Regions from separate parts of the Homo sapiens genome. Here regions 1, 2, 3, 5, 6 and 7 are each linked to region 4. Evidence: promoter capture Hi-C in 16 types of primary human blood cells and fetal thymus (Javierre and others, 2016). All regions are on one chromosome and are shown on one strand. The core of a region is centred on a gene start or on the middle of the fragment in contact, and the rest is flanking DNA. Distances in the headings are between cores, read along the strand shown. Region 1 has its middle 28 kb from the start of LINC02808. Region 2 holds the start of ELAVL4 (ELAV like RNA binding protein 4). Region 3 has its middle 18 kb from the start of ELAVL4. Region 4 holds the start of BEND5 (BEN domain containing 5). Region 5 holds the start of LOC105378711 (a long non-coding RNA gene). Region 6 overlaps FAF1 (Fas associated factor 1). Region 7 overlaps ELAVL4 (ELAV like RNA binding protein 4).

Region 1 (2,700 bases), core at 197-2,696, 1.6 Mb after region 4:
CTCTAGATGTTACCCTGAGAAGGACACCTTAATATCACTGTTATTCAGTGCTCCAGCCAGCAGTGAGGCTGACAAAGAGCTGAGAGAAAAGTTTTCCCACGTCTTGTATCATAGTTCCATCTCACCAAGTAGATCACGAGTTCCTCAGGGGCTCCCCGTTGCAGACAGAAGAAAACCGCATGTCCTTAATGTGGCATTCAGGCTCCTTTGTGACTTCCAGCCTCCTCTGACAATCACATCTTTCATCTCCCACCTATTCCTCTACCACACCCGGCTACTCACCATCCCTCAAAACTGCATCATAATAATTGCTGCCTTCATTAAGCAACTGGTCTCTGGTACTGGGTACATCCCTGGGTCATTTCATTTAATCCTCACAACGGCCCTTCAACTTAGGTGCCAGTATTTCCTCTAACAGATGGCGAATTAGAGGCTCAGAGAGGCTGAGTGACTTGCTTAAGATCACACAGCTAGACCCAGACTTTAAATCAGATCTCTTTGATCCCAAAGCCAGGCACTTTCCAACATATTGCACTGTTCCACCCTCCAAGTGCTGCTTGGATAAACATTTCCAAAGCACCCACTCGGTGCTGGGCTCTGTGTTAGGCACTGGGGGTACAGATGCAATCAAACCCCACTCCCAGTCTCCAGGACTGATGATCTGGCCAGAGAGAGGTCAGGGCTGAGGCACGGTAAGGGTCCCTTGTCAGGGGTTAATGTCAGTGTCAGGGTTCCAGAGTCTGGACCTCTGACCCTCGGAGCTGATCTCAGCAAAAAGGTTGGGCCTGGACCAAGTGATGGTGCAGGTGGAGTTGAGAAATCCTTCCCCAGCCCCCTGATCCTGTGAGTCAAGCTTGGCACGGGTTTCAGGTTGCTGCTGGGTTAAAGTGCTGGCCTTTTCCATTAGTCAAGTCTCTGCTGCCCTCTAGTGGTACATACAGAGATGACAGGGAAGAGGCTTCCCCAAGAAAGAAAGAAATCTCTGATAACTCCACTCTGCTCAGCCTAGGGTCTGCGAGCTGGTTCCCAAGTTTGTGAATAGACAGACCTGGGTTTGAGCTTGCAGTTGTGCAGGGGTCAGTCTGCTTCACCAGGAAAGTTGCTCAACTTCTCCCAGATCATACAGTGAGCACAAAAATAACCCCAGACAGAGCCCTGCTAAGACTGAGCCATGACTGTGGTCATAGCCTGAGCCTGACCTTGGCCATAGACTGAGTTATAACTTTGTCTAGAGACTAACCCCACCTTCAGAATCCACCAAACATATGCTGTTCCCCTTGCCTGCCTCCCGGGAGCCCTTTGGCAGCATTCTGCAGCCCTGGACCTCCTGAGGGCCTCTGGGCCTCTCCCCTGCTCTTTTCTCTCAGCTGACCCCACTGCTCCTTCCCCTGTTGCCTGGGTGACCCCTGGTGGATCATCTGAACCAGCACTTACAACACCCTGCACCCCTGCCCTCTTAGTCCGCGGCCCAGTGACCCACACCCCCACTCCACCATCTATCTGCTCAGCTCCTGTGCTGGCTGAAGTAGGCTTCCCTGCTATGCAGAAGGCTCCAGCACACCTGGTCCACCACAGCAGGGCCCCCACACTGCCCTACTCTTGGCTCACTCTCTAGAAGCACTTCCTCCCATTCCCCTTTCAAGATGCCTGCACCACTCTTCTCCAGCTCATTCAGCCCCACCTGCTATGCTCACGTCTCACTACAATGGGAAGATTGAGGCATCAGGCTGGAAGCACCCCACACTCCCCTCACACACTATAAACCACTCCTGCCGCCTCCCCTTCCATCTTAGAAGATAAGCATCCCTCCTCTGTCCAAGTCCAGCCTGTCCCCAGTGCCTGGACCCTCAGGGAGCACACATCAGCCCCTCTCAACTGGGCATCATTAACATCTCCCCTCAATCTATAAACATCCTCAAGTCTCTTCTGCCCTAAAGAGAAAGAGAGAGCGAGAGCGAGCGAGCAAGCGAGAGAGAGAGAGCCTCCCTCAACCCTTTTCCCTTGAGCTTTACCAGTGTCCTCCTTATCCCGTTTCACAGTCAAGCTTCCTCCAGAAGTATCTACCCTCATAGATGAACTTCCTCATTTGCGCACTTTCTCTGAATCACCTGCAGCCTGACTTCATCTGCATTCACCCAGCACTGTTCTCAAGGTCCCCATGCATCCTCATGTTGCAGTGGACTCTTTTCCATCATTCCTTATCCTGGTTGCATTTGCAACCACCTTTCCTGATTTTCCTCCTGCTCCTCAGTCTTTTTGCAGGGCCCTCTTCCCCTCCCCACGTGAGAGTAACATGCCGGTGGTCCCCAGGCTTCCATCCTAGGCCATTCTCCTTCCACCTAATTTCCTTGGGAGATCTTGAATATTTGCATATTAGTTGGGACTCTTGCTGGTAGGAACAGAAGCCCCCTGAAGTCAGCTGAAACCAAAAGGGATTATAAGACTATAGGAAATCTCAAAATCCCAAGGACAGATGGTCTGTGATATGGAAAGGAGGCAGGGAAGTGCTGGGTAGAGAGGGGCAGGGTCCCTGGTGAGGGCTCCACCCTCAGGCCTGTGCCCACAGACCTAAGTGAGGACAAGCACTCCTGTTTTTGCGCCCAAATGTTGCATTTTCCAAGACCAGTCTGGCCCATCACACCCCCCATCCTGTGCCCATTAAAAACCTGGGACCACAGCAGGCACACCCACAAGCAGCTG
Region 2 (2,700 bases), core at 127-2,626, 1.3 Mb after region 4:
TTATACATTTGCTAAAGAAATTACTTTAAAAGTTTACTTAACTGAGTATTGTTCCACCTTAAGGAATTATAGTTTTAACATTTGTACTTTTCTATTTCATGTATTTTCATTTCTAATAGCTGAACGTATTCATACTCAAGTCTAATGGATTATGCAGTGTACCCAACACATATTGTTTTATGATGTATCTGTATTTTCTGAAGTGTGAATATATATGTATGTTTATATGTGTGTGTTCATGAAACAGCATCTTGGACAGAATAGTTTTAATCTTGAAAAATGTAAGGTTATTTTCTTTCCTAATAATTTTTCACAAACCCATTTATTCTTGGACTTTGAAACCCAGAAATATAGCTTATTTTTTGGTCTGTATGTCTACTCTGCCTAGTTCTGTCTCACTGTCAACTCTAGTCAAAGATTAAAGATTACATTGAATTTTGTATTTGGTAATATGTGTTACCACTGTGTATTTATTGAAGAACAAATTGATTAAATTATGAGTTAAATAAATAGTGACACATTAGTCTTTTGCATAGGTGTGAAGCATGAACTTCTCAGGTAAGCCACTTAAAAAACCCAAACCAGAACAAAAAATACACTACTGAAGGCTTGGTAGTGTAGAGGTTGTTAAATGTGTAAATAGGCAGACAAACTGTATACCTCACCATACACTTGCTAAATGTCTCTTTGCAAATCTCTTAAGAGGCCAAAGAAAAAAAGACATCCCTTTGAAGGAGAGAAGCAAAATCACTTATTTAGTTAAGCAAAATGAACACTCTGCACAGGTTTTGAAATGAGGCTGTTGTCAAAAGCATGTTTTACCTTTCTCTAAAGGGGTAGGAGAATGTGTTTTAGTGGATTTTTAAAAATTCAGATCATGTTCCTATCCAACTTGAAAAATAAATTCATTTAAGTAAATCATTCATCATCCTCAGTTTTGAAAAGCTCAGACAGAAGGCAGAAAGGTAGAGGCTGACAGCTGCCCCTCCCTTACCCCCACCATTTTTTTTCTTTTTGTTTATTAGGAAATAGTTTTCTGAGACAAACTTGTATGAACCTAGTTCACGGAGCAAGCTTAATCCCCAACTTGCTTGCTTTTGAAATGTTGGCCATGTTAGCTGGAGAAGGAGCATTACTTACTAAAAATCAGCAATATCTGGAAATAATAAAGTTAAATTGTAGATGAATTAGCACATTAAAGTGCTTTTGTTGTACCTTTAAGCCTACAGGCAGATCATTAAATATGCATTTCGCTAGAAAGCAACTGTCTAGAAAGATAAGGTGGTTGAAAATATTCTACGGTGGAAAAGCCCTCCATCAGAGAGGTGGCACGGTTCGGCCCTCAGGATGGGAAAAGAAGGACCCTCCCACTGTTAGTTTAGGTTTGCAAGCCTCCAGTGACCTGCAGTTGTTACAGTACTTTTGAGCTGGGAGGAGGGAAAAGGTAAAAATACAAGTATGGCTGTTGTTGCTTCAGCCGGGCCTTAATTACCAGACACAAGAAGCAGTTCAGAAATCTGGTCTCTGTTGTTGTAGAGGTCACCAAATCATTAACATCGTCAATCTGGCAGTAGCTAATTTAAATAGCACCTGATGTTGCAACGCCTCCCTTCGTTTCCCCAGCCAATCAGATCCAGGCTTCGGCTGACAGATGGTCCCATAAATGGATGTAAAAAGGGGAAGCTTCGAGCCAATTTCAGCAAGGCTCTGTTCAGTTGTTCTTATCTACATCCTAGAATCGGGGGTTTCAGCTCACTGCTCCTTTTCTTTTTTTTCTTTCTCTCCCCCGCCCACCCCCCCAAAAATAATTGATTTGCTTTACAATCATCCACACTGTGTTTTGTGGATCTTTAATTATATATAACAATAGTAGTCATTTTAAATATATATTCTGAAATCTTTGCAAATTTTAACAGAAGAGTCGAAGCTCTGCGAGACCCAATATTTGCCAATAAGAATGGTTATGGTAGGTATGACTAGATTTATAATCTGTTGTTTGTGTTGCTGGAGGGAAGAAAAGCATCTACACCTTGACCAGTCTTATGCTTGCACAAGAGTTTAGTTCTGTGCTGCTGTTTGGTTCCTACATTTACTATCTCTTTTGTGTAGAGAGTGCGGGTAGGTCCTTTTATTGAAAAGCAATGGGGATATAAGATTGTCATTTTTAGCAAGTCGTTGTCAGTTTTCCCTTCAACATAAAGGCAAGGGGTGGAGGGGGAGGGCTGAAATAATTGCTGGTTTATTGAAAGAGGTTATATTACTTGAGACATAATGGCAAAAGAAGGGTTTTCTTTTTTGTAAGGGAGAGGGGGTTTGTCTACGTGCCTGGGTTTTGTGGGGCTGGGGGTGGATGCAGCGGGGTTAGGAATCTCTCAATTTCCGTGCTGGAAATTTAAACCTCGAGAGGCAGCTCCTGGATACTGAACACTGAGATGGGCAGTTGTGTTTCGGGGGACTGCGCAGTCAAAACGGCAAAGAGAGTGATTTATTTGGGCTTCAGTAAATGCTGCATCTTGTATTTCAAAGAGTTTCCTGTCATGACCTCATAAAAAAGAGGAGGCGGCTTGTATGTGTAGCAGTGCCTGGCGTGTTGAGTTGTTGCTTCCTTCTCTGGGCAGCAGCTCTGTAAGAAGGAATGTCAGCTTTTACATAACGTTCCTTTCCGCTTTTGACACACTGTGTGAGGGTCCATCTTCTTCT
Region 3 (2,700 bases), core at 61-2,560, 1.3 Mb after region 4:
AGAGTGAGACTTTATCTCTAAAACAAACAAACAAAAAACAAAAAACCATCTTTCTAACCCTTTCTGTTTTTAGCGTGGGCTTGGGGAATGAGGTGTATTTTCTCAGTGATACCATCAGGGGTGGGAAGGATAAGGCCAAGTACAGTGGGAATACAGACGGTTCCTAGGGTCACCTGCAGAAGAATAGCCAGATGGGGAAACTCAACGCCTAAGAGATTCAGATGTTTAAGAGTCATGTAAAAGCCTCAAAAGCATTTGAGGTCCCAACATGTAAAGTATAGGAATTCTCAGGTTGGTATTTGGGCATCAGAGAGTTGGGTGGAGGTTGTAAAAAGGTCTGCCACAGAGGACAGTTGGAAGGTTCTGGTGCTGAAATCAGTGGGGAATGACAGAGGCTAAACAGGCTCAGGCAGAGGTTATGTATGACAACTGAGTCTCTTTTTTCCTCCTGTTAAAAAGTTAGTGATTTTATCTATCTCAAGTTTGTTGTAAGCTATAAATGAAACTCTCACATATAAAAAGACTAGTCCTTGAAAAAATCCCCACCTCTCCTTTCTCCTACCCCCTTCCTCTGCATTCTCACACTACTCTTTTTCACTTTTCAGAAGCCAGTAGTGTAGAGAAAGAGCTATTCTAAAATATTCTATACAATGTGTGCCACTAGGCTTCTAAGGGAGATGGTGATGTAGTAACTTTCAAGACACTTAGTCTAGTATTGCAATTGAAAAAAAAAATTGAACAGTATATATTAGTCAGAATAGGCCAATTACTGTAACAAACAACCCTGAAATCTCAATGGTTTGACACAGTCAGGGTTAGCTCTTGCTCATTTCACAGTTCAGCATGGGTCCATAGGATGCTATACTCCACTCAGTCATTCAGGGACCCAGGTGCCTCTCATCTAGTGGCTCTGTTCTCCTTTAGGGCCTCAGAGTTCTCCTTTGTACCCTTTGCATCTACTTGGTAGGCAAAGGAAGAGAGAGAGTGAAGATGGCACATCATAGAGAAATTGTTAGAGACTAGTCTTAAAAGTGATGTGCATCACTTCCACCCACATTCCAATGGCCGGAGCTCAATCACTCAGCCCCACTGTATTCTAGCTGTATGGCTAGGCAGAAAAGGAAATAGGACTGGGTGGACACTTGGCAGTCCCTGCACCGCAGTCAGAGGTAGCCCAAAATGAGGCAAATTATTGGAAAAGTAGTGAATGAGCTCCCTTTCACTGAAGGTATGTAAGCAGAGTCCAGTGACCCCTTATTTTCCAAGTCCTACTGGAGTAAGGTGGGGGAAATTTAAGCTAGAAGAATGCAGAGGACCTTTCTATCTTTGAGGTTCTCTGATTCAGTAAAGCAGAAGGGAATTGGAGCTGAATTACCCATCTGAATTTCCGGTGACTTAAACTGAGTTCTTGGAGTAGAAATAGAATGTTGAATTTCATTTCATGAATTGTTCTTCCAGCTTGACGTATTGGAGATTTTTAGCACGCACGCTCACACCTGGCTGCTCGCCACCTTCTGCCATTGCAGATACGCTTACAGGAAACCGTAAGTGGATCTGCTTTTGATGCTGGCAGCGTCTTACTAAAATGCTTTTGCTGGCATCATGGAACAGGAGCAGAATTCAGCTGGGACCAATAATGAGGCTATTTAGAAAGTTCTCTCCTCCACCCCCTGACAAGGCAGATGTGGTAGGGATTTTTCCACTCCCATTCTGTCGATGGTGGCCAAAATTAGTTCAAGGCCATCAGAAGTGTTTAGACCTCAAGAGTTGAAACCCCAGACCCATAAAGAGGACAAATCCTCTTCCTCACGTCTAGCAAGAGAAGAAGAAACTCACCCCCAAAGACTCCCAACACAGAAATTTGTCACCTATTGTTCCGTAACAGACTTTAAAAAGGCACAGCCATGTGTCAGTTTGGAAGGAAAAGAAGCACTGACCTCCATTAAAAATATCTCCAAGTAAGTTAAAGTTGCTAATGCTTTCCTTTTCCTGAAACCATGTTGTATTGAAACAACATTTTCTTCTAAGCACTTTCACTTCTATCATCTCATGTTAAAATCCCCAGCCATTGTAGTGTGAGGTAGGGATGTCATGTTTTATCCCCATTTAATAGATGAGACTTCTTGAGGTGCAGAGAGATTAAGTGGCTCGCTTAAGGTCTGTGAGACATGTATGCAAGATGAGTACCCAAATCTCTATACTTCCAAACTCTTTCGCCTAGACCACACAAGATTGTATCAGCTGATGGGTTTTTTGGCCATTCTAGTTCACTGTAACTGACTCTGTCCATCTGTTGATCCATTAATCCATCTGTCCATCCACAAACTGTACCAGGCATTGTGCTTCAGATACAGAGATAAATAAGGGTCTTTGCCTTCACAGCTTAGTAGGAAAGATGGAAATAGAGATAAATAAATGATGGATACAAGTACATATATAGACAAGTTATGATGGGTATATGTGTGGGGAAGGGCCAGGATTGGAAACACAAAAAGAGCATGGTAAGTTCTTCCTTAGAAGGTCAGGGATGATGTCACAAAGGTGACATTTGAGCTGAATCTTATAGGTGTATGACCATCAGACACACAAGGGGTCGGGGGCATCCCAGGCGAGACACCAACTTGTGCAAAGGCATAAAATGTGGCCTATGCAGGGATGTTCTGGCATGTTTCGGGATGGTTTTAGAGAGTAATGAACCCA
Region 4 (2,700 bases), core at 161-2,660:
ACTAACCCTTCGTGTTCTTTCTGGTAGAAGGCAGGAACACTATTTGCCCACTTTAAGGTTCATTCTCCTTACCAGCAGGAGCTAAAAAGGCTGCTCCCCAAAACGGAGATGATACTTCCCCCTTCCTTGCTTGTCTAGACTCAAACTTTCTGGAACTAGCTGGGAAAGAGGGCCAGCTGTCTTCTCTTTACAAAGGAAAAGGTGTCTCAGCATGGCAGGAAGAACTGGAGCATAGGAGGATAAAGGGCTGGTTTCTTTCCCTATCACCAACTGAACCTCAGTACCCTCATCTACGAAATGGAGATGAGACTAGCTGCCTTAGCCCATCTCTCAGGGCCCTGGCAGGGCAGGGATGAGAGGTCCAGTGTTATTCTGACCCAGAAACTCTCTCCTGGCCCTCAACTCTCTCATTCAGGGAGCCTTCTGGGAGATTCAGAAAGGGGTGTGGAGGCTGAGGGATGCCTTAGGGCCTCTACCTCCTTACCTCTGCCACCTGGCCAGGGAGGGGCAGGAGAGTGTGGTGTGGAGCCCAGTGCACTGAGGTTCATGGCCTCCTCATCCTGTCCAATGTTGGCCCGGATGGGACAAGGATGTCATAGCTTCCCTCTGTGAGGAGGGACTCCCACCTAGAAGATCTGACAATATCCTTCTTGCTCCTCACTCCAAGGAGGTACCAACAGCCTTTAAAGGGAGAGAGACAGACAGCTTGAGAAACTTAATTCTTGACAGAAAAGAACAGAGGGAAGGAACTGGGAGAGAGGTAAAGAGAAGGTGAGAGAGAAATGACGGTACAAACAGGTAGGGAGAAAAATGGAAAGTGAAGGAACGAAGAAAACACAAAGAATCAGAAAGAGGAGGACAGACACAGATGAAGAGATGAAGACGGACTGACAGCGCGGGAGCTTCGGGGAAGCGGGGAAGACAAAGGGGACCATCCGGTCTTTTTAACTGGCCTGGCCTCTTAGAGACACCCCGTTCCCAAATGAAATGCCCAGAGGACGGGAGAAGGAGGCAGGAAGGAGCAAGCAGTGGCTCCCCCCGGTCCCCTCCGCCCGGGCCCCCGGCCCCTCCCGGGGTCCCAGCCCCCGCCCGGGTCCCACCGTCCCTCCCCGCCCGCTTGCTCACCTGCCAGCGCCAGGATCTGGGCCTTGTGGAGCAACAGCGCGCCCCAGTCGCGGGGGGCGCGCGGGGGGCTCTCGGGCCCGGCGCCCAATTCCTCCGGGCCCCGGTACACGGCGTACACCTTCTGGTTGTCAAAATCCAGCCGCGAGCGGGGGCTGAAGTCGCGCACGCACGACACGGGCAGCGCGTAGCAGACGTTGTCCTCCAGGAACCGCACAAAGGCGTACATGGTGGGCGCCGGGGGCGGGCCCCGGTCGGGCAGCTCAGCCCGCGGGGCGGGCGCGGAGGTGGGGATCCGGCGGGGGGCGCGAGTCTCGCTACGGTGCTGGGGGGGGCGGGGGCGGCTCCCCAGGACCCAGGCTCCCCCCACTGTTATTGTTCCTGAAAGCACCGTTCTGCCAATCGGCTGCTTTCGCCTGGGCGCGGAAAAGGGAGGGAGGGGGGGAAAGGGGGACGAGGGGCGGATGAGGGGGGTTTGGAAGCGCACTGCCACTTGCAAAGTCAGACCCGAGCAATCACAGCCGGAGCGCGATTCGAATGGGGAGGGAAAAGGGTTCAGAGATTCAGTTGCAATAAAAATAATAACAAGAGCATTGCAGGAAAAAAATGCATTGATTAAAAGGTGCGCTGCGTGCAGGATTATATTGCTTCAACAATCGCGCTGCCAAATTGCATTGCAACAAAACTGCATTGCCAAGTAGAGAAGTGTATGAGTGAGTGAATGCGGGATAGGGGTGGGGGCAATCTTGATTGAATCTCAAAGTGTAAACTTGGAAGCCAGCAGAAGTTTGGAGTGTTTTAAATGTAGCCACCCTACCCGCGCCCCCAGCCCCGCACCCTCCCCGCGCCTTTCCCAGCCCTTAGTTTGGCCCCGCCTTTTCTTTGCTTTCTTTCTTTTTGTTTGTTTGTTTGTTTGTTTTGTTCTGCAAAACTGCCAGCTCCCTCTGTGGAAAGGGTCAGTCAGACAGAAAATTTCCCCTAGAGCTGCCAAACCAGTTCTGACCAGAACTGGGGCTTATCTGAGATTTCCAGTTGTGCCAGCTGGCTGGGGAGGTGGAAGGTTTGTCAAGGGCTGCTCTCATCTGAGGGAGCAGTGGCGCCCCTCTCCTCTATAGTCTTTCTCCATTGAGATACCCTCTCCACAGCACGCCCACCACTGAGCAGGGACAACTTGGAATCGCGGAGGGAGTTGAGGAGCGCTCTGGGTAACACAGGCCCAAGGCTAGGGATTTCTGGAGCACTTTGAAGAGTACAGGAATAGTACTCCATGGAATAGCGGTCTTTGCTCTGTCTCTTGCCAAAGAGAGCCTGGAGGGGCTTGGGTCCCCTCCAAGACAAGCCGTGAGGACCAGCCAAAGGGGGCTGATTGGGCTCTGTACTCATAGGAACCCTATCCCACATCAGAGGAGGTCAGTACCTTCACAGGGATGCCTCGTATCAAATATGGCTAGTTATATTTCTGTTGCCTAGCCAGACCTGGCACTTGACAGGGAGTTAATGAATTTTGGGTAAAGAAGAATAAATAAAAACCCACATCCATCCATCCATCCATCCATCCATCCATCCATCCATCCATCC
Region 5 (2,700 bases), core at 159-2,658, 1.5 Mb after region 4:
TATGACTTTCATTACACATTTCCCAATGAGCTTTGTTTGGTTATTTTACTTGTGTTTCTATTGACAGGGCATAGGATGAAACACCTTCTAATTACCTCTGAATATCTTTACTGGTTATCTATGGCTGTGTACAAACCATCCAAAACTCAGTGGCTTAACACACCCATTTACAGAGGTCATGATTCTGTAGGTTTGTATTTGGGCTATCTTCAGGCAGGCAGTTCCACTGCTGATCTTGGCTGGGCTCATTCACTTTGTGTATAGTTTTGAGTCAGTTGGGAAGCTCTGCTTTGGAGATAGGCTGGCTATCAACTCTGTGGTTATGGGTATCAACTGAGCCATGTGTTTTTTATCATCTAGGAGGGTAGTCTGGGCTTGAGCACATGATGGTAGTCTCAGTATTCCAAGAAGAGCAAGAGATGTAGCTGCAATGCCTCTTGAACTAGGCTTATAACTCACCCAGTGTCATTTATATTATTGGCCAAAGCAAGTCACAAAGCCAGCCTGAAATGCACTCCACCTCATGATGGGAGAATTTGCAAAGTGCTGTGGCAATTTTCCCAATATGCTTCAAGGTGTATAAACTTTCTTCCATTAATCCTGGCATATGCAAGGAGGAAAGAATGGAAAACATTCCAAAGAAAGTTTTTGTTATTGTTGTTATTTTCTATAACCATAACAAATACTGGAAGCATGATGATTCCCTATTGTTTACACATTATCATTATTATTTATTGAGCACCTCATATGTGCCAGAGACCAGTCAAATAACAATGAAAAAGATATACACAGTACTTGTTCCCATGGGGCTTACAGTCTGATGGAGAAAATATATTAAACAAGTAATTCCAATAACTTGATAAGTATTATGTCTAAAAATTTTATAGCTTTATTAATTTTTCCTTTATGTTTTTGTCTTTGGAGTCCTGAGTTTTAAAGGCTTCTCTGGATTAAATAAATATTAATTTCTATAAAAGGGCTTTTGAAAGTTGCACCCCTAGCAGGAAGCTCTTTTACCTTGGGATGCCCAGTGAGCAAACCTGGGCCCAGCCAGAAATTTAAGAACAAAGGAGAGAAACCCCAGTTCATCTCCAGACCTAGGCTTTCACCCTTTCTGGAAAAAACCAATACTGTGCTCTTTTCACATTGTGTCCTCACCCCAGGTGATCACCCTTCTACAGAGGTTAAAGGCCCTACTCCATCAGCTTAGGCCTGATATTGACACCCCAATTCCAGGCTGTTTTCTGTTGCCCAAGCTCCTGTTGGGCCCCTACCACAGGTGCTTTAATGTACAACCTGATGGATATTTAGAGCTCTCAGAAGCATTTGACTGGACTTCATTCCAGTATATACATACATACATACATACATACATACATACATACATACATAGCGATGATAGATAGATAGATAGATAGATAGATAGATAGATAGATAGATAGATAGATAGATGATAGATATAGATAGATGATAATAGTTTTCTTTTTTTTCCATTTAACATTGTATTCGGAATCTTGCCCTATGGTGTTAAACAAACCCACCCTGGGGGATATATCATGGATAAATGTATATTAAAATATCCTAAAAGAGAAGCTGTTTGTCCAAGCATCTCTCCTTGGAGGGCCTCTCTACCCCATCCACCCATTGCAACTGGGTCAGCTCGGCACTGGGCATAGGGGTAAGCCCCACTCTCTCTTACTCACTCCCTCCACTTTTCTGGGCATTGGGTTAATATTTCCTTGAATCACAGTGGTAAGATATGAGACATACATTTGGGCATTGGTGGCCTGCTGTGGTGTGGGGAAGTGCAATCCTAATGAGCTAGGGGAAAGGCGCATGCCCAGCAGCCCAGCTCAGCTCCCTGGGGTTCTTGGTGCTAGGCATTGGAATGAAAACCTCAGTTTAGAGTAAAGCATGTCTGCGCGCTCCAGTTGATTTGCTAGTCCCCACCCTGTGCAGTAATATCCTTAGAAACATTGACAGGAGAAAGGGAAGAAAAGGAGGCTTCACCATAATGGGATTCAGCTGGTCTTGGGTCCCTCAATCATAGCACCATCTAGTAGCAAACTGGTCTTACAAATATTTCCAACATTCAGCATGGAATGCTGTAAGGGGGAAGCCCACTTCATTCATTTATCTGTTCAATAAATATTGTCTCTTATGTGTGGCGCTCTTCTAGATTCTGGGGTTGCAACAGTAACTGAAACAGACCTAAATCTATGCCCTCCGAGAGTTTGCATTCTGGTGAGGGGCTGAACATAAAATGTGTAAGAAGAAAAACAAGGGAAGCAATAAGCAATGTCTTGGGTGGTAGCTTTAGATTGGGTGGTCAAAGAAGGCCTCATGGAGAAAGTGACATCTGAGCAAAAACTTGGGGGAGGTGAAGGAGAGAAGGGTGCAGGAAAGCAACACAAAAATAAACAGCAGAAATGAAGAAGGGGGCAGAGGTATATCACATGTGAGCCCAGAGAAGAACACCTAAGCCTATTTAAGGAATCTTCCCAGGGAGATGATTGCTGAGAGGGTACTTCAGGGATGAGTGGAAATTTGGCCAGCAGACACAGGCACAAGGGCATTCTAGCAGAGAAAAAAAGTGTGTGCAAAAATACAATGAAGCCATGAAACATGTCTCAGCTGTGAACCATGAAACCCAGACCCAGAGGGGTTCAGCAACTCAGTCAAGGCCACTCAGTAATAACA
Region 6 (2,700 bases), core at 167-2,666, 1.7 Mb after region 4:
GAAGGCTCCTAGCAGGACTTCAATGAAAGACGTGGCTGGAAAGACAGTTTGGACATAGATCATTAAGAGCTCAAATACCTTATTAGGTTATCATTTAAACTTCTGAAAAAATCTTTTCTCCTTGGCTTCAGAGAGATCTGGAGTGGTGGGCTACATGTGCTCCTCAGGCCCAGTGGGCTAGGGAGAAAGTGAGCATTTTGAATGAATTTTAATATCCAAGCAGGGCCATGCGAGCTGGTGTGTGCATTGCTCTGCACGCAAACACCACTCAAGAGCTGGGGCTTTGAACAGGAGTTAAAAGAGTTTAGTCCCTAACGACATACAAAAGACTTGCCGGTGTGATTTATTCTGATGTATTTACTTATCCAATTACCAAAACAGCAGGAGATCATTAAATTTTCTAGTTACCAGATGCAGCACGTTCAATATCTTAAATGTTACCAAGGCTCTCTCTGAGCTATTTTGATAGTACATTTCATCTACCCAAAAGCTTATAAAACTGGAAGGCAAGAATCATGAACAGAGCACGTGTTTTCTTTGAAGGCTGGTCCAGCAGCGGCCTGTACAATACCAAACCTATACCCAAAATTCCCAAACTCCTGGGCTTAAGCAAAAGCACCATGATGAGAAAGAAAAGTATTTAGGAAGAGAGGATGCTAGGAAAGTGGTACTTGAAGGTGGCTGGAGATATGCATTTTACCTGGCCAGCCTTTTCTTCATGCGTATTCCCTATCAGTTTAGTTGCCATATCCACAAAGGGTCAGGGCTCAGAGCTGGGGAGGGGAGTCAGAGAACAAGCATCATTTGGGGAACTGCAAACCTGCCTCCTGACCCTAGCATACTGCTCTGATTACCTGTGTGCTCTAGGACAAGTCACTTTTTGTCCTCTGAGATTCCTTGTCTGTTAAACAAGGATGTTGATATCTGTCTGGTGTACCACCTTATGGACCTGCTATGAGCATCATCACAGCTTATCACAGTAACAACATTTTAGAAGTGGCAAAATATTTTCTCTCAAAAAATACATCAAATAAGTGAAATCTGGGTCTAAATTTTCGAACAGGGGGTAGGGGCTTGGCCCCAACATTGCTTACTATGCTGATCTCTAAATATTATCCTCTCATAGACCCTATGTGCCAGACAATTAGAGCAGTTTGCTATTCCTCAAATATGTCTTGTGCTTTTCCTCCCTGAACCTTTGCTATGTTGTTTCCTCCACCTAGACTGTCCTCCCTCTCCAGTTCTACCTGTCCCAACCTATATGTCCTTCAAGGCTCAGCTCAGATGCTACTTTCTCCATAAAATCAGGCCTGAGTGACAGAGCCTAAATTAATCTTTCTCCTATTCCTGTAACAGAGTTAATCATAGCTGGAATCATTCACTAGGCCATCGGCTCATGGAACACAGTGACCATATATGTTCATTGTGGTCTCTCCCTCATATGCCTATCCCATTATCCTGCATGTGGTCAATCCATGTTTACCGGACTAATACCTTTATTTCACCTTAGGATCCTCAGACAAGGCAGTTGCCAAGGTCTGCTGGCTGACATAAGGTCAGTGTTTAAAGTGGAATGCAGGTACTGGCAATGCCAACCCTGTCTTTTGCTAAAACAGCATTCTTATACTTTGACCAGGCAAGAGATCCTAGAGGATCTAGCTCAAGGGATCAGCCACAGTTTCACACTGAGTTATCTGTTGTGCCTTTTGATTATTTGTTTATGAGTCTGTCTCTCCAGCCAGGTTGAATTCTGAGGGCACATAAGAGATTTTACTGGCTACCTATCCCCAGGTCCTAGCATACTGCTGGAAACAGTGTAAGTTCACTACATGTTTGCTGAAAGACTGATCTACTGAATGACTAAATGGAAACTCCCCACTCCTCCCTAGAGCCTCCATGAATTCAAAGAAATGGAGTCTAGAGGAGCTGCATCCTCAGACCTCTTCCCCCAGCCTCATTCCTACAGCAGGCAGACTCCGTTGGTGATACCATCAGCAGGTCATTCCAGCAGCTCCCTTGGCTCTGGAAGCTCTCTGGCTCTAGCTTCTGTCAGTTCTGCTACACAGATACAGGGGCTGACAGTAAGTCTGCATCAGTTGCCCTTTCAGAGGGGACAGAATTTTCCCTAAACTGCTGTTGGAATTGGCTAATTAGAAGGATTTAAAAAATCTTAATACTCTAAACAGAGAAAACTGGTTCTGAATTATTAAGCAACATTTTCAATGCATTTGAATAACCTTAGGTGACTTAGCTGCCACCTGATCCTAAGCTCTAGCTCAGATAAATAAATGTGAAATATTGTCAAAGCCTTGGCTTATAGAAGCCTCCAGCTACAGTAAATAAAAGCTTAACTCCTCATAAACTGCCTGGGACAGAGACACTGTCATATAAAAGGAAAGAAGATGATCTTAAATAAAGCCAGTAGGACCAGGAAGCCAATGGTTTTGTTCTAGTTTTCGGAAGAGAGTTGTCAATGGGGCATGTATTATCAACATCCAGGTCATTTAATCACAGAATCACATAATATCAGAGCTGAAAGAAAATTAAGAAAACACTTAATCTCTTCATATTTTAGATAAAGAAAAAAAGACCCAGAGACGTATGTACCTTGCTTGAGATCACATAACAAGTGGCTAGAAGAATTAAAATTTTGCCCCAGGAGACATGGTTCCCAGCTTAACCCCCTTCCTACTGCACTAC
Region 7 (2,700 bases), core at 6-2,505, 1.4 Mb after region 4:
GAGTGACAGCACTTCTACATCTGTAAATGAGAGGAATGACAATACCCACTTCTCAAAGTTGTGTGAGAATTAAGTGAAGTGATGTATGTAAAGACACCTCTCACCATTTCTTATTAGTACCATTGGAAGGACTTAATGATAATTACTTGCCTAAATATTTTCCTGTGTAACTCAAAGCACTTTTTAATCAGCATTATAACAGGATTTCCCTTTACTGAGTGTTTGTCATATTCCAGGCACTTTGTATGTACTTTTTCCATTACTACACTTATGACATTAGACAGTAATTTCTTATTTACTTATTTATTTACTTCCTTGCAGGCAGGAACTCTTTCTCTCTCCTTCATATCTCTGGCATTCAACATAATGGTTTCTGGCCCATCGAAGGAACTCATTAATGTTAGGAAACTTAGCTTGGCTTTTGTTCCTTCTTTTGAGAGCTAACTTCAGTTTGGGGGAGGGGCTGCTCCAATGAAGTACTAAATTAACATCATTAAATTGTGTCTCATAACTTGCCCTCAAATATATACCTGTAACTAAAGAAATTTTAGATTGCTCTAATTGACAATGGATGATTCTGAATATGTGTTAACATTTTACTTTTTAAAAAAGGTAAATTTCTGGGATAAAAAGAATATATTAAGAGTTGCAAGAGTTTACCAAACAAATTTTCTTTGTATCTGTGATTCAAAGGACAAGCTTACCCTACTCAGAAAAGTAATGTTTTAGTTTCAAAATACATGTATTATATCCATTTGATAAATATACATGATAATATACATGTATCATATACTAAATATTCTTAGGGACATAGTAAATTAATTCTAAAAGGGTCTTATCTGAGAATTGTAGATTATGCAGCTTGAATTATAATACAAATGTAATTTTTGAAATTTTATCATGTCTTTTTTATAATTTAAAAGTTTTATTTTTGATTTTTAAAAATGCCAACTTGACTTTTGCCCAATTAGTGAGTGTGACCTTTCAAAAGCATATTTTGAAAAGGCAAAAGATTGTGAAGACAGAAATACTAACTTATTTATTCTCTTATAATCTAAAATTCTATTTTTATGTGGCAAATCATAAAAATACATACAGTAGGAGTTTTTTTAAAAAAATAGAACAATGGGCCGAGTGCGGTGACTCACACCTGTAATCCCAGCACTTTGGGAGGCCGAGGAGGGCTGATCACAAGGTCAAGACATTGAGACCATCCTAGCCAACATGGTGAAAACCTGTCTCTACTAAAAATACAAAAAAATTAGCTGGGCTTGGTGGCGCATGCCTGTAGTCCCAGTTACTCAGGAGGCTGAGGCAGGAGAATCACTTGAACCTAGGAGGCGGAGGTTTCAGTGAGCAGAGATCACAGCACTGCACTCCAGCCTGGGGACAGAGCAAGACTCTGTCTCAAAACAAACAAACAAACAAATAGAACAATGAAGAAAGTGAAATTAAGGGAAACTAAGAGGATTTTAAAAAGATAAATTCAGAAGTAAAATTTATGTTTAAAAAAAAAAAAAAAACCAGAAGTTTGCAGTGAGGTCCCATGCTCTTTACACACAGAAAACTATAGATTTGGCACCCATTTTCCTAATATTGAAAACAAAAGCAAACCCATCATGCAGAGGACAGAGAATATTAGTGGTTTAATGTCATAAAAAGTGCTTGCCTCAGAGCAGACGTAAGTATTCCGATACTTGTGATTTCTGGATTTTGTTTGTTTTTTTCCATTTCTACTTTGCTTGCTTCTTGTTCATGATATTTTTAATCGATACGTATTAGAAGGATGTTCAAATGCAAGAAAGAGAGAGAGAAGCTTAAAAAGCGTGGTATGGAATGCCACTTGACAGTGTCATACATTCACAAGATGTCCTTGAAGATGGAGCACAGAACAGAGATCAGGGAAATTTTGTCAGCTGCAGTTGGGAAAATAAATGGCTGTTGTGTGATTGGGCAGATCCTGAAAGCAGACTCCTGCTCAAACCATGTAATTAACAAAAGTGGGAGCTTTTGTCCAAGTGCAAAATGTTCATAATATCAGAGTTTGTCAGCAGGAGCTTTTAGAACGGATCAGTACTTTTCACTCCCTGATCCAGGGAATGGTTTTCTTATAAATCATCTTCTCTCCTTGCTGTCCTCATGAAGGTTGCTGCCGGGCGATAGGCAGACTTAAGATTGTAACCTTGCTAATTCACAGTGATTTAGGTGAAGGGGAGACTGAACCAGAGACTGTTTCTAGAAATGTGATTTTTATTCATTTGGGCTCCCATGAGTACTCTAATGTAGGAACAAACAGAGTGTGTCCAAGGAGAGATCCTACAGGATAGCTCTGGGGAGGAGACAGAATCATTTTTAATACTGTGACTCCAAACTGGTTTGAAGGACTTGACATTTTCTTTCTTTTTTAAAAAACAACTTCCTTTCAGATTATAAAACTGCTGTATTCTCACTGTAAAAACAAAACAGAGTTGACAAATAAAGATGGAGAAAAGTGTAACAATCACCTGTAATTCTGCCATTTATTCTAGTGTTTTTTATTTTTCCCTCCTACTCTGTACTTGTTTATATAATTGAGATAATCAATCTTTTATTTCACTTCTTTTTCTACATTGATCATATACATTTTCTCACATTATAAAAACCCATTATAAACATAACTTTAGCAATTGCAGAATACTGTATCAAAAAACTGCACAATGA

What was found. Contacts are between HindIII fragments. The CHiCAGO score rates a contact against its expected background, and 5 or more counts as called.
Region 1: a fragment that was not itself captured here is called in contact with the fragment with the promoter of BEND5 in region 4 in 5 of 17 cell types (M0 macrophages, M2 macrophages, M1 macrophages and 2 more); the score reaches 12.7 in M0 macrophages.
Region 2: a fragment that was not itself captured here is called in contact with the fragment with the promoter of BEND5 in region 4 in 4 of 17 cell types (M0 macrophages, fetal thymus, M1 macrophages and 1 more); the score reaches 8.8 in M0 macrophages.
Region 3: a contact is called between a fragment that was not itself captured here and the fragment with the promoter of BEND5 in region 4, in 1 of 17 cell types (M2 macrophages). The highest score is 6.4, in M2 macrophages.
Region 5: a contact is called between a fragment that was not itself captured here and the fragment with the promoter of BEND5 in region 4, in 1 of 17 cell types (endothelial precursors). The highest score is 6.9, in endothelial precursors.
Region 6: a fragment that was not itself captured here is called in contact with the fragment with the promoter of BEND5 in region 4 in 1 of 17 cell types (M0 macrophages); the score reaches 5.3 in M0 macrophages.
Region 7: a fragment that was not itself captured here is called in contact with the fragment with the promoter of BEND5 in region 4 in 1 of 17 cell types (M0 macrophages); the score reaches 6.7 in M0 macrophages.

What each region holds. Positions count from the first base shown.
Region 1 is chr1:50,347,963-50,350,662 of GRCh38, forward strand. No RefSeq gene overlaps it. Among named protein-coding and RNA genes, the nearest start is that of LINC02808, 28 kb to the left of the region's middle. The HindIII fragment of the contact is 1,191 bases long and covers 852-2,042 here.
Region 2 is chr1:50,107,233-50,109,932 of GRCh38, forward strand. ELAVL4 (ELAV like RNA binding protein 4) reads left to right here and starts at 1,688. Exons shown (of 7, transcript NM_001144774.3): 1 at 1,688-1,966. The coding sequence starts at 1,958. The HindIII fragment of the contact is 609 bases long and covers 1,073-1,681 here.
Region 3 is chr1:50,089,737-50,092,436 of GRCh38, forward strand. It overlaps a transcript of ELAVL4 not described here. Among named protein-coding and RNA genes, the nearest start is that of ELAVL4, 18 kb to the right of the region's middle. The HindIII fragment of the contact is 6,186 bases long and covers 1-2,700 here.
Region 4 is chr1:48,775,481-48,778,180 of GRCh38, forward strand. BEND5 (BEN domain containing 5) reads right to left here and starts at 1,411. Exons shown (of 6, transcript NM_024603.4): 1 at 1,126-1,411. The coding sequence starts at 1,351. The region is part of intron 6 of AGBL4 (AGBL carboxypeptidase 4); the gene reads right to left. The HindIII fragment of the contact is 5,361 bases long and covers 1-2,700 here.
Region 5 is chr1:50,258,174-50,260,873 of GRCh38, forward strand. It overlaps LOC105378711 (a long non-coding RNA gene), which reads right to left and starts at 583. Exons shown (of 10, transcript XR_947315.4): 1 at 1-583. LOC105378710 (a long non-coding RNA gene) reads left to right here. Exons shown (of 2, transcript XR_947314.1): 2 at 1-29. The HindIII fragment of the contact is 2,988 bases long and covers 1-2,700 here.
Region 6 is chr1:50,453,099-50,455,798 of GRCh38, forward strand. The region is part of intron 18 of FAF1 (Fas associated factor 1); the gene reads right to left. All of the region lies in intron 1 of FAF1-AS1 (FAF1 antisense RNA 1), which reads left to right. Among named protein-coding and RNA genes, the nearest start is that of FAF1-AS1, 13 kb to the left of the region's middle. RefSeq lists an enhancer at 32-533. The HindIII fragment of the contact is 1,856 bases long and covers 489-2,344 here.
Region 7 is chr1:50,130,380-50,133,079 of GRCh38, forward strand. All of the region lies in intron 1 of ELAVL4 (ELAV like RNA binding protein 4), which reads left to right. Among named protein-coding and RNA genes, the nearest start is that of ELAVL4, 23 kb to the left of the region's middle. The HindIII fragment of the contact is 1,117 bases long and covers 698-1,814 here.